2 separate regions of the Homo sapiens genome follow, and region 2 is linked to region 1. The links are contacts of gene promoters, found by promoter capture Hi-C in blood cells and fetal thymus (Javierre and others, 2016). All regions are on one chromosome and are shown on one strand. Each heading gives the region's core, a stretch centred on a gene start or on the middle of the fragment in contact. The rest is flanking DNA. Distances are from core to core; before and after follow the strand shown. Region 1 holds the start of CCDC186 (coiled-coil domain containing 186). Region 2 holds the start of FAM204A (family with sequence similarity 204 member A).

Region 1 (5,569 bases), core at 1,044-3,543:
TTACTTTTTAGCCCAAATACATTTTTTAAATCTCAGTAGCTAAGAAAGTTCAAAGCAGTTTGAAACAATAGATTAAATTATCTATGATCTCACTGCTGCCCCTAAAATGAATACTAAGTATAACATTTGCAATACTGTAAACTCAGTGATATGTTTATGAGAAATTGAAAAACCAGCTTTAGTTATTTTAAGGTAGAGATAAAAGAAAAACCTAAGTTTTACTAAAAGAAAAAAAATTTCAGGGTAAGGATTCTTACTTTAACACGAAACTGTTGCATGAATTTGAGAAACTAGTGCAGATTACCAGTCCTTCTTCAAAGGGAAAGATTATTTTCTAAATCTCCAAATAAAGCTGCTTTGTGCTTCAACCTACTGTCTCTTCCTGGAGTCAGTATACTGCAATGCTTTTATCTTCACTCTGTGATGTCAGCATAAAGCTGCAAATAGATGTTTCTAAACTGAACATACTAAGCAATCATTAGCTATGCTGTCACTGCATAGCATTAAAGGACAACTCTACTTTATGGGTGAAAGAACTAAAAGGTTAGAGTGGTCACTGTGATACACACCAGCCAACCCTTTCCGTTAGCAATAAATAGGACTCAAAAGCCAATGACACACTATGGAATCTCCACTGTTTAAAGAAACCTTAAGTTTATATGCAGTTATTCTGAATTTAACAGGGCCTTTAAAAAACAAACACAATCCATGCATTTCCAGGGAGAATCTTCAGTAATCATACGTTTGCCTATTATGCTGTAAAAAGTTTTAATTCTTAATACTGCAAGATTCGTGATCTAATATCTTCACTGCATTAAAAATAACATGAAAAGACCAGAAATAAAAGAGAAAAATGAACCTAGCCAATCATTACTGTTTTTTATTTGTGTAATGTTGGATAAAGAATTGAAGTTACACAGGGAACAGTGTACATTACACACAGAGATAGTTCAGTTTCACTATCAATCTCTCTTGAACCTGAATCCTTCCCACGAGATGAACACTCGGTAAATATTAAGGTGTACTTGATAGTTGGGAAAGCCACACCCACAACTAGCATACCTAAATAGATAATAGCAGATTAATTTCTTCTGAATGACTACCAGCACACCTCTTGAAACCCTGATTTACTGAACACCTTAGAAGACAACACCCGGCCTATCGTTTTGGAAGAAAAAAAAGCTGGGCATCAAAGGAACATGACACACATGCAGAGAAAACGGCCAAGTACCTGGGACTGTACTGCGTATTTTTACTATATTCTCTCTTCTGATTTCCACAGGTAACAAGATTATCAAGTGAAAGAAGTAGGATTCTAATCCAGATGTTCTGACTCGAAATCCAGGACTTTTTCCTCTAAACAAAATCAAGATGGGAATATTAGGTGAAGTTGTTAAACTGTTAACAGCTAAGCAATACTCACACCTGCACTGTTTCCCAAGATTGCTACTTAGGGACACGTAGAAGGGTTTTTGTTTTGTTTTTGCCATTTTTCATTACTGATGGAGACATAAATCTGAAACCCCTTCCTTACCAACCAAGGTTTATGAAATGCCTTGACGTCCTTGAAAGACAACATAAAGAACAGTATCCACCACTCCAAAGAATCACTTCTAAGGAACTTAGAATCACAGTAATGGAAGTGTTTGGAAGAGGGTAACAAGTCTTCACAACAGTAAATATAAAACACCCACATACAGTCAACTTGAGACGAAAAACGAAATAGGCGATTGAGTCTAGGAAAGATTCTCGAGCAGGTAGGGCTTGGCTGCAGTTCACACGCAGCCCAGGCAATGGGCTCGAATTCAGACGCTCTCGAGGCACAGCCCCCACGACCCCCGCTGACCCCTCTTTGCCACCTCCAAGGTCCCGGAACCGAAGGAGGAAGGCAGGGAGAGGAAAGGGCTTGAAACCCGTTCCCCAGCCCTCCCCTTCCTCCGCGCCCTCAAAGGAGCCAGGCGGGGAGCCCGCTCGACCTCGACCTCCACCTCGCACTCGCCCTCGCCCCCGCCACGGAACGTGCAGGAAGGAGCGGAAGGCTGGCAGCCCCACCGCACCGCCACCGCGACTCACCGGTGTGCCCCGAGTACCCCTCAGACACTTACCCCACTTATCCAAGCCTCAGGCCACGCCCTAACAAGGCTGCTGGAGCTCTGGCTCAGGGGCCAACTTTTCCATAGCGGGGTCCAACCAGCCAAGAGTGGGAGGAAAAGACCGCGGTGAGAAACACAGCCGACGCCTCACTCAGCGGCCGTTTCCCCAAACCCCTGCGGAGCTGACACATCAACAAAGATGGCGGCGACACTGAAGCCGGCCCGGTTACAGCTGAGGGGGCGGGGGCTCCCTGGAGGAACCAATCAGCGCAGCGCGGGCGGGGTGACGCAGCACACCTTGAGGTCCTGGGTAACCTGTCTGCAGTGGGCTGGGCTGGCGGAGCTCACCTCCCACCTCCCGGCCCAGGAGGCCCCACCTTGCGGCCCGAGAGGCCCCGCCCCGCACTCCGCCTGGCTGGGCACCCACGCCTCCGCGACCTGGAGAGCCGGGTCTCCTGCCCTTTGGTCGGGTTCTTCCTTTCAAGCTCCTCCGGACCCACGCAGCCTGTTTCTTTCTGCAGGACGCTCTTGTTGGCTATTACTCCTCCTCACCCTTTGGCCTGCATGAGTCAGGGACATAAAGCAATAAAAGAGAATTTGAAATTGTGGCTTCCCGGCTCTCATGCGGAAACCTTGCACCTTACGTGGGCGGAGTCGGCTGGAGCAGGCTACGATGGGGGAGACCTCTGGGGGTTCCATAACAGCGCGTTCGTGTCTTCAGCGTGGCGCTGCTGCCATTGTTTAATAATAAACTGTCGGTGCCTTCGTCTCTGGCTTCAAGCTGAGCGCATTGATGGTAGGAAGTGTCCTCTCCCGGCTGAGTAACCTGGCACGCAGCATGGCAACAAAAAGTGTATTGGGTACAGTTGCCTCGCCCGGCCCAGAGAAGGAAGGTCAGCAGTTCAGTCTCTGGAGGTTTCGCAAACCTCCTCAGTCCGGGGAAACGATGTTCTTTGGTTTAGGTCTTACACATATCTCATGAATGAAAATAGCTGATGCAGACGATTCTGCAATGTAAGAATTTGTAAAGCAAAACTTACTACTGTTCTGTTAAGCGTCTTCGATACTGTTGGCAAAACACACACACGGAGGTGTAATGGCACCTCACTCCTCCTTAAATGAAGGTACTACACTGAAGCACATTTTGCAGTTAAAGTGTCTTGTCATAGAAAATAAATGATTTGACTTTAAAACAATAAATCGACCAAGCCTTCCTAGGGAGACATTAATCCAAGGGGAAAAAACTGAAGAAACCTTAAGCTGTTTTCGGTACTCGTCAGTAATAACATAGGTATTACTATTTCTGAATATTTCTGAATTTATAATTAGTATAAAGTATATAAATATATCTTTGTGAACCAAGTTTTTCACCATAAGAGAAAAGAAATACAAATATAAACCAAAGACATTATATTAAAATTCTGCAATCCTATATTTGAATTTACAAATATCAGAATTAACTCATGGTACATTTTTTTCGTGAAAAAAAAGGTGTGTCCACTGAAAACTCTTAGAACAGTGACCAACCCATTGCACACTCCTATTCCCCAGATTGTGATCTCTAAAGAGCATTGCCCAAAAAAAGTTACCTTGGCTTCTCTTGGAGGTTAAGTGCTGATTCCCAGTAGGGGCAAGAAATATGCAAGATAGCCTAGGACATATTGCTTGTAGCAGAAAGCAAGGAAGAAAAGCAAAGATAACATGAACTGTACCCAAAAGACTCAGAAGGCAGTTCAAAGATGCCCCAACTTCTCAAACAGGACAAATTTAGCATTCAAAAATAATAACAGCAACTGGTTGAGACGCACTATGTAAAAAAATCAGTGAGTGCATTTATTTTTTTTAATGTCATTGACCCTCTTGGAAAGATGCCAACAAGTCATTACAATCTGAGAACTGATAAAGAATCAAGCATTCATCCTACCTTTCCTGTTGCAAACTGAATGTCAATCAAATAGTCAATGTGGGGAAGCTCTTCTCTGTAGAACTCCATGTAATAATTGCAGAAAGAAAGATAGATGATCACCATTTTGCAAACCCTGATGAAATAATGGATCTAGGTAATGGTCATCTGTGAATCTAGAACCATTAGATGAAAAACTGATAGGAAGCTTCGTATTGTAATGGATGGATGGGGCTGGCACCACTTGAACCTACTAGATCAATCTTAATATCCTCCAAAGTGAAACAACTACATACTATGTATTTTCTGAAATGCTACAATAGAGAAGCACAACACCACCTGTGAAGTATTCCTGCCGGGGGATGCAATCAACAAAATTGAATGGAAAAAAAAAAAAACCCTGCAGTTACTGTAATAAATAAATTGCAAGAGAAGTACAGGATTTAAAGAGAAACCCCTTTTTAAAATATATCACTGAGTGCAAATACAGGATGTTTTGATACTGATTTGAACATATCAACGATTTAAGATAACATCTGAATGGCTGGGTGTGGTGGCTCACACCTGTAATCCCAGCCCTTTGGGAGGCCAAGGTGGGCTGCTTGAGCTCAGGAGTTTGAGACCAGCCTGGACAACACAGTGGGATCCCATCTCTAAAAAGAAAATTAAAAAATAACATTTGAGGTATCTGGAAATGTTTAGTATTAATTTTATGATATTAAGAAATTATGGCCAGGCACTATGGCTCACACTTGTAATCCCAGCTACTGAGGCAGGGTGATGGCTTGAGTCCAGCAGTTCAGGACTGCAGTGAACTATGACTGTGCCACTGCACTCTAGTCTGGGCGGCAGAGCAAGACCCTTTCAGAAAGAAAGGAAAGGAGAGGAAAGGAGAAAAAGGAGAAAAGAAAGGAAAGCAAGAGAAATTATTGTTTTTAAAGTTGGGATATGTTTTGGTGATATTACTTAAAAAGTGGTAATCTCTTAAAGACACCTACTTACAATATTTTTGGATGAAAAGATACAATATCCCAGAAAGTAATAAAGTGCTTAACAAACAAAATACCACCTGATGATAGTATGTGAAGGAACAGAAACCAACTGAAAGAGCTTCCTGTGGCCAAAGCTGGAAAAATCTGAGCAAGGAAATACAGTAGTTTTGGATTAGAAAAGTATAAAATAAGAAAAAAAAAGTATAAAATAAATATCCGAGTCCGTTATTAAATTAGTAAATGGAGAAGAGACAAATCTCCCATGCAGAAGAATTTCAAATAATTTCTGCAGATACTGCATCCTCAAAGAGGGACAACATAACTCCCTACTCCTTAAATGTGGGCTTCAAATAATAGCTTCCTTCCAAAGTGTATAGTATGAAAAGGGAAGGGAAAAAAAAGAATATAGTAGAAAGACCCAACAAACACTACCACAGCCAGATGACCAAATCCTACATCAATTGTCATAATCATATTCATAGGATGTATGCTTGATATGATGCAATAAAAATGGCATTTTTACCTCTGTGGTCTTCCTTCCAATAACCCGTAACTCCTTTCCTACCAGCAGAAAAACATCA
Region 2 (6,133 bases), core at 2,667-5,166, 4.2 Mb after region 1:
ACCGCCATATAATATACCTTTAGGCTCATTATCATTTAAGGACTTAAAACAGTAACAAATTTCAGGTTTGGATTTCTTAGCATCACTGGAGTCTATGTTAGAAATAACTCTTTCCCTTCCTGTCCATAAAATATTTTACATGCCCACTTATGTGCCAGACACTCTTCAAGACCCTGGGGACAGAAGTATATAAAACAGGCAAAAATCCCTAGCCTCACGAAATGACAGCTATACACATAGCAAGTTTCTGCTCAGTTTTTGAGCCAAGTATTCCTTGACCTGGACTTTAGATGTGACTGCTCATGAAACGTGTATGCCTCTCCAATGGGCAGTGGCACAGGTCTCCTACTAAACCACTGTTTTAGCATCTCTGCAGGGTGATAGTCTATGCTCTGGGCACCCAAACATGCTTCCCTCTGGGAAGCAGTCTCAGTTGCCCCGAAGAAGGCATGCTTTTTGCTGTTGTTGTTGCTAATCAGCCTTCAAGTAGTTAGGCATTTTTTATGGCTTTTTAAATTTTCTCAAAATTATATATTTTTAGCTCCTGCTCATGTGGCATTAAAAACTGTCCTCAGTGTGGCATCTGCCTGGTATGATAATTTCTTGAGTGTACCCAAAGGAAAAAAAATTAAAATAGTTTGAAAAAGGTGGAATCCACCTCTAAATCCAGGCAAAATTCAAATCAGGTAGGTTTTGAATTCCACTCTTTAGAACCTTTAGTCATGTGCCATTTTCCTGTGACTCTCAAAAAAACAAATACAAGGGAGACTGAGCAGTCACTGATAAACACGGATAACTGCTGCCACTTACTGTGCAGCCTGCAAAATGGAGTTGCCCGTGTAAGCAGCAGCCCAGTTACAGATCAGCCAATATGGAGTGGCTGCTTAGTGACTTTTGCTTTGGACTCATGTTTCAAAACAGTCTTTCTATTCATAGCATATACTTGTCATTCACAAAGTTTCCAACTGGCACCATGTTAGGCCTCCTGTTATTCTTGTTTTGGCTGCTGTGGAGAATGATTCTCTATAAGTGTCTCTTACTTATGCCTTTCAGAGCGTATTTCTTTATTTTAAGGCAGATAATCCCAAGTTACCCTTTAACTGTGAAAATTCACTCAGCCTGTCTCCAGAAACGTGGAATATCAGAGAAACAGAAACTTAAATTTGTTTAGCATAGATTATAGCCAAGTCCATATAACAGCCAATGTATTAATTCATAAGCTTTCATTTTTTTTACCCTGCAACCCAAATAATTTTCAATTTAATCATTTTAGCCCCAAGGAAAATGTAAATGACTCAGAATCCTTTTTCTCTCTATGGTTTTGAATATCACTTTCTTCATTTTACACACCCTCCACCTCTAGAGTTAAGATTTATTCCATCCCACAATTATCCTCAAGACATTCTGTGTGTACTATGCAGAACACATCTTTAGTCCTGGGCTAACACAATTTGCCATGAACTGAAAATATTTATATACTGTCCTAGTCTGAATAACTAGGGTTTCTTGTTTGTTTGTTTGTTTGCCCTTGAAAACCACCCATCGTTATTATTTAGCATACTTGGTCAGATAACAATGAATCAAAAACAGGGTACAGTTCAGTGGTTCCTAATCTAAGTATGAATATAGTAACAGGAGTCTCTAAGCTAATTTCAAAAAGCCCAAACTATTTTATTTTTCCCCTCAGTAAGACTGTACCATTCATCATTACAGGAAAAGACCAATTTAGTGAAGCACTATTTTTCACATGTTAATCAGAGGTTCACTGGTAGTTATAGGTCTGATTTTTATCAGAAAAAAACATTCATAAATAAGGTTGAGTAGACACAATCTTTCAAAATAAAGCAGCCAGGGAGAAATCAAATTATAATAAAAACCGTTCTAGATTGTGCACTGGTTACAGGGGGAAAAAGTCTTCAAAGTTGGAAAATGGTTTCTAGTCCTGAGCAACATAATTAGGAGAAAGCCACTGCATTTGTCTGGGCCTCCATTCTTAAGCTATAAAATAAAGGTTTGATCAAATGATCTCTGAGATGTCTTACAGCTCTAAAATGCCTCTTTATGATTTTGATATTATAAGTGCCCTAAATGCCCAGAGTCACCTCACTCCTGGATGTATCACTCCATTCTCTCTAGCACTGCAATCCTGATTAGAGCCCAGTATCCAGTAGATAAGGTTTCTCTCCTCTACCTAGCAACTCAGCCAAGAGGATGTTTTCAGAGAAACTCTGTACACTTCAGGACACTGAGAAGGGGAAGGAACCCTAGTTACAACAGGAAACACTAGAACCAGAAAGGGGAAACAAAGCAAGTCACTGCTGCACATGGCATACAAACAGTGTGGCAGGCCTTGGTTTTCCACTAATCTTCACAACAACCCTTCCACTAGGAATTACTATCTATATCAGCCCCTCCCCTACCCGCCCCGCCCCCAATTTACAGATGGGATAACTGACTTGCCTAATGCATTCTGATCCATTTGTTTTACAAAAATAGCCCCATGGCTTTAGATTATGAATTTTACAGAGCAGAGTTGTAAGCGGGGACAAGGATTTGCGACTGGGGCTGAGAATGATCTTAGCCTATAATTACAGACTTGTTAAATTTGGTTAAGAATTTTTTTCTGTACTTTTTGAGTACAGAAAGCTATGCAAGATGCTATACTAAGTTGCATACATCAAAGTCAAAGTCACAGTCAGAGGTTTGAGTAATAATGTCATATTTTCTGGACAACCAGACAGCTGCTTATAATCAAAACCCAAAAGATATATTTGAGCAGCTCGATGGGTAAATGTTTTCCATCTCTATTCCAGAATTTAAATTCCATTTTCATCGTATAAGGCTGTCTTATTTCCTATATTTTGTATTTGATTAGAAATAATTCCAGAAGCCTGAACTTCGTCTGATCTAAAATTAATTTCACTTGTATACTAATTATAAGCCACAATTATTTAACAATCTGAAGATTGTAATTTACATCATAATCAGAGTCTGTGACTTAAAAATAGTTACTATTTTCAAGCATGTTAACATCAACATTAACGTAAATATCCTATTTACTTTTATGAAATGAATGTGTTCCTTTTCTCAAAAAAGGTACAGAAAGGACAACTGAATTACAGGCCTGAGAGCGAATCCAGAAAAACTACTTATTTAGCAAGATTTTGCATGTATTCAACTGTTTTAATTAAAGAGAGTGTTCGTTTACTTGAGGCCTGGAAAACATTTTCCCAGACCCAAGATCCTGCATGGAAAGACAATAAACCAAGTTAACAGTTCAAGGCTCATTTTAAGTCGATTCCGCTGTGAGAATACTTACAGGGTCCAAGATTGCAAGAGGATGGGTCTAGAAAGGTACACCGTTCCTGCTTGGCTGCACAACCCGGAATTCTGCAGGCTTTCTGGCGGCAATGCCACACTCCAATCCCAAAAGAGAGAGAAGCCCCTCCCGGGCACAGAACTAAGCGCTGCACATTCCGGCGAAGGATGTCTAGCCTGCTGGCAGTCCCATTAACTGGAGCTGTTTTCCGGAATACAGCAACTGTAAACGTGAGCCTGTTTTCCCTATCGACAGCCTCCTCAATCCCCTCTCACTTTGACCTGGGTGGGACGGAGAACCCCCTCCACATAACAGGCTGGGGAGGCCGCTGCGACGCCCCTTTCGAGGAAGGCTGAGGGCGGCCCCGCCGTCGCTTCCGCGGCCCCGGGCCGGGGGCTTTTCTAGCCTGCTCCGGGAGGCTCGGCCGAGGAGCTATGAGGCCGCCCATGCCGCCTCCCTCGGCTGCCCACAAGAGGCCCTCCCAGACTCATCATGCCGGAGCCCGAACCGGCGGGTAACCAACCCTCCATAAGCCGTACTCACCTGTCAGGAAGTGGTCGCCCAGCAGCCATCTTAGGACCCCGTCAACATCGCGCCTTCTCATTGGCTCCTGCGTCTCAACCAATGGGCTGGGGCCGTTCTGGCCCTAGGGTCGCCTTAGCAACCGGCCTCCTGGGGCTTCCCTTTTTAGTCCGCCCGAAGGAGGTGGTTCCTTTCTTTCTTTTTTTTCTCTCTTTTATCTTGCCGTTTTCTCTTTCTTCTGAACATTTTTAAAGACTTTGTTCTTTCTTCATTCCCTGCTGTAGGCCAATGCGTCTGGGCAAGGAAAGGGCTGACATAGACCTTGAACTGAGAGTTGATGCCACCAGGAGGGAGAATCTTGCAGAGTGCTTTCTTTCTAGGCCCCTCTGCAAACGTCTTCATTCATTCATCCTTTCCCCTCACTCTCTTCCTTTTTTTTAATTTTTTTTCTTTCTTCACCTATTTATTGGGCGCCTACTTTGTACCAGGCATCGTGCTAATCTCTGGTTAGCAGAAAACATGCTGACTCTTGCTCTCTTGGCGCCTACCGTCTGGTGATGGGGTCCAAGGTGCTTCACTGACTGGACCAAAAGTTTACCGAACTTCTTTTTTTCTTATTTGTGGCAGGCACTGTGTTATGCCCAGAAGGGGGTGCTTGGGGAACATAGAAAATAAGGGGAAAAAAAAGAGAGAGAAAAGCACTGCGAAGAGGATAAAATACCCTATGGATAGGGATGGGAATAGGGCTATTTTAGAAATATTTGCATTTTCCGAAATACTGTTTTATAATAAGAATAACATTAAGTGTACCTATTTGCTAATTTTGTGATGATTATATAAGAAAAGCCTGGGCAACAGAACCAGACCCTATTTCAAAAAAAGAAAAGAAAAGAAAATACAGTAGGCTTCCCTCATCTGTGGCTTCTCTTAGCCTGATTTCAGTTACCTGGGGTCAACCAAGGTCCAAACACATTAAGTAAAAAATTCCAGAAATAAGCAATTCAAATGTTTCATTGCAAGCCCATTCTGGATATCCTGATGAAATCTGCAGTGTGAATCATCGCTTTGTCCATGCATGCTGTTAGGCTACCAGGTTCTTAGTCACTTAGTAGCCATCTTGGTTATCAGATTGAAAAACTATATGTGGGGTTCGCCATTATTCCAGGATTCAGGCATCTACCGGGGAGTCTTGGAAGGTATTCCCTGCGGATAAGGGAGGCTACTGTACACATAAAGACTTTAACATGTTACCTAGCCCACGCTAATTTTCAATCTCAGCTGTTTTTTGCTGTTAACATTACCAATAATGTCTTTCTTCAAAGCAAGCTAAATGTGTATAAAATTTTGCATTGCACTCAGTAATATATCTCAATTTCACATCAACAGATGGTTAAGCCTATTAACTATCCACTAAACCACCTCACCTCCAACATCTTCCAGAAGATGCGCCAAGTTTAGAGAGCAGTTTTCTATAACCCCAGAATCATAGTAAAACCTGAATCAGCAAGTTTGGATCGCCGAGGTCCCTCTTCCTGTTCACATTCTCTGATTCTAGAGTAGAAGCAAGGCTGAATGAGTTAAGGATCTGTGTAAAACTATTTTGGCCAAATCTGTTCAGCTTCTCAGTAGGATTTTCCTTGAATCCAAATCTTTAAAAAGTTAAACAGGTAACAAGAAGGTGTGCCTGAGAGTGCTGTTGTAACTGCATTAGGCTTCTTAATTGCTCTTCATCTGGGGATAGCAAAATACTACAGACAAGGTAGCTTAGGCAACAGGAATTTATTTCTCACAGTTCTAGATGCTGGGAAGTCCAAGATCAAGATGCCAGCAAAGTAGGTTTTTTTTTTTTTTTTTTTTGAGGCCTCTTCTCTTGCGTGGTAGGCAGCCACCCTTGCCCTGTCGTGCTCCCATCACCTTTTCTTTATATGCACAGTTTGGGGAGCTCTCCAGTGTCTCTTCTCTGTACTTAAAAGGACACTAATCCTGTTGGATCAGGGTTCTACCCTTCTGACCTTATTTAACCTTAATTACTGCCTTAGAGGCCACATCTCCAAACACAGCCACACTGTGGGTTATGGCTTTAAGATAGGAATTTTAGGGGTGCACAAACATTCAGCTCATAACAATTGCTGATGGTGGAAATGTTACCAGAATGGGGAAAGAGATAGCAGAGGGGGAAGAACTGAGGCATGGGGTAGGAAGGAATTAATGTTTGTATGTTTAAGAATGATCTGGGGCTGGGCATGGTGGATCACGCCTGTAATCCCAGCACTTTGGGAGGCCGAGGCAGGT

Evidence for each region. The method cuts DNA at HindIII sites, captures the fragments that hold promoters and counts their contacts. A CHiCAGO score of 5 or more calls a contact.
Region 2: a contact is called between the fragment with the promoter of FAM204A here and the fragment with the promoter of CCDC186 in region 1, in 1 of 17 cell types (naive CD8 T cells). The highest score is 5.1, in naive CD8 T cells.

What each region holds. Positions count from the first base shown.
Region 1 is chr10:114,171,910-114,177,478 of GRCh38, forward strand. CCDC186 (coiled-coil domain containing 186) reads right to left here and starts at 2,294. Exons shown (of 16, transcript NM_018017.4): 1 at 2,106-2,294. MIR2110 (microRNA 2110) reads right to left here and starts at 2,270; the gene lies at 2,196-2,270. It also overlaps a transcript of TDRD1 not described here. RefSeq lists enhancers at 1,976-2,504, 2,100-2,299 and a silencer at 2,360-2,629. The HindIII fragment of the contact is 5,809 bases long and covers 1-4,202 here.
Region 2 is chr10:118,338,408-118,344,540 of GRCh38, forward strand. It overlaps FAM204A (family with sequence similarity 204 member A), which reads right to left and starts at 3,917. Exons shown (of 9, transcript NM_022063.3): 1 at 3,863-3,917; 2 at 3,320-3,520. RefSeq lists enhancers at 3,722-4,221, 3,858-4,077. The HindIII fragment of the contact is 7,280 bases long and covers 1,219-6,133 here.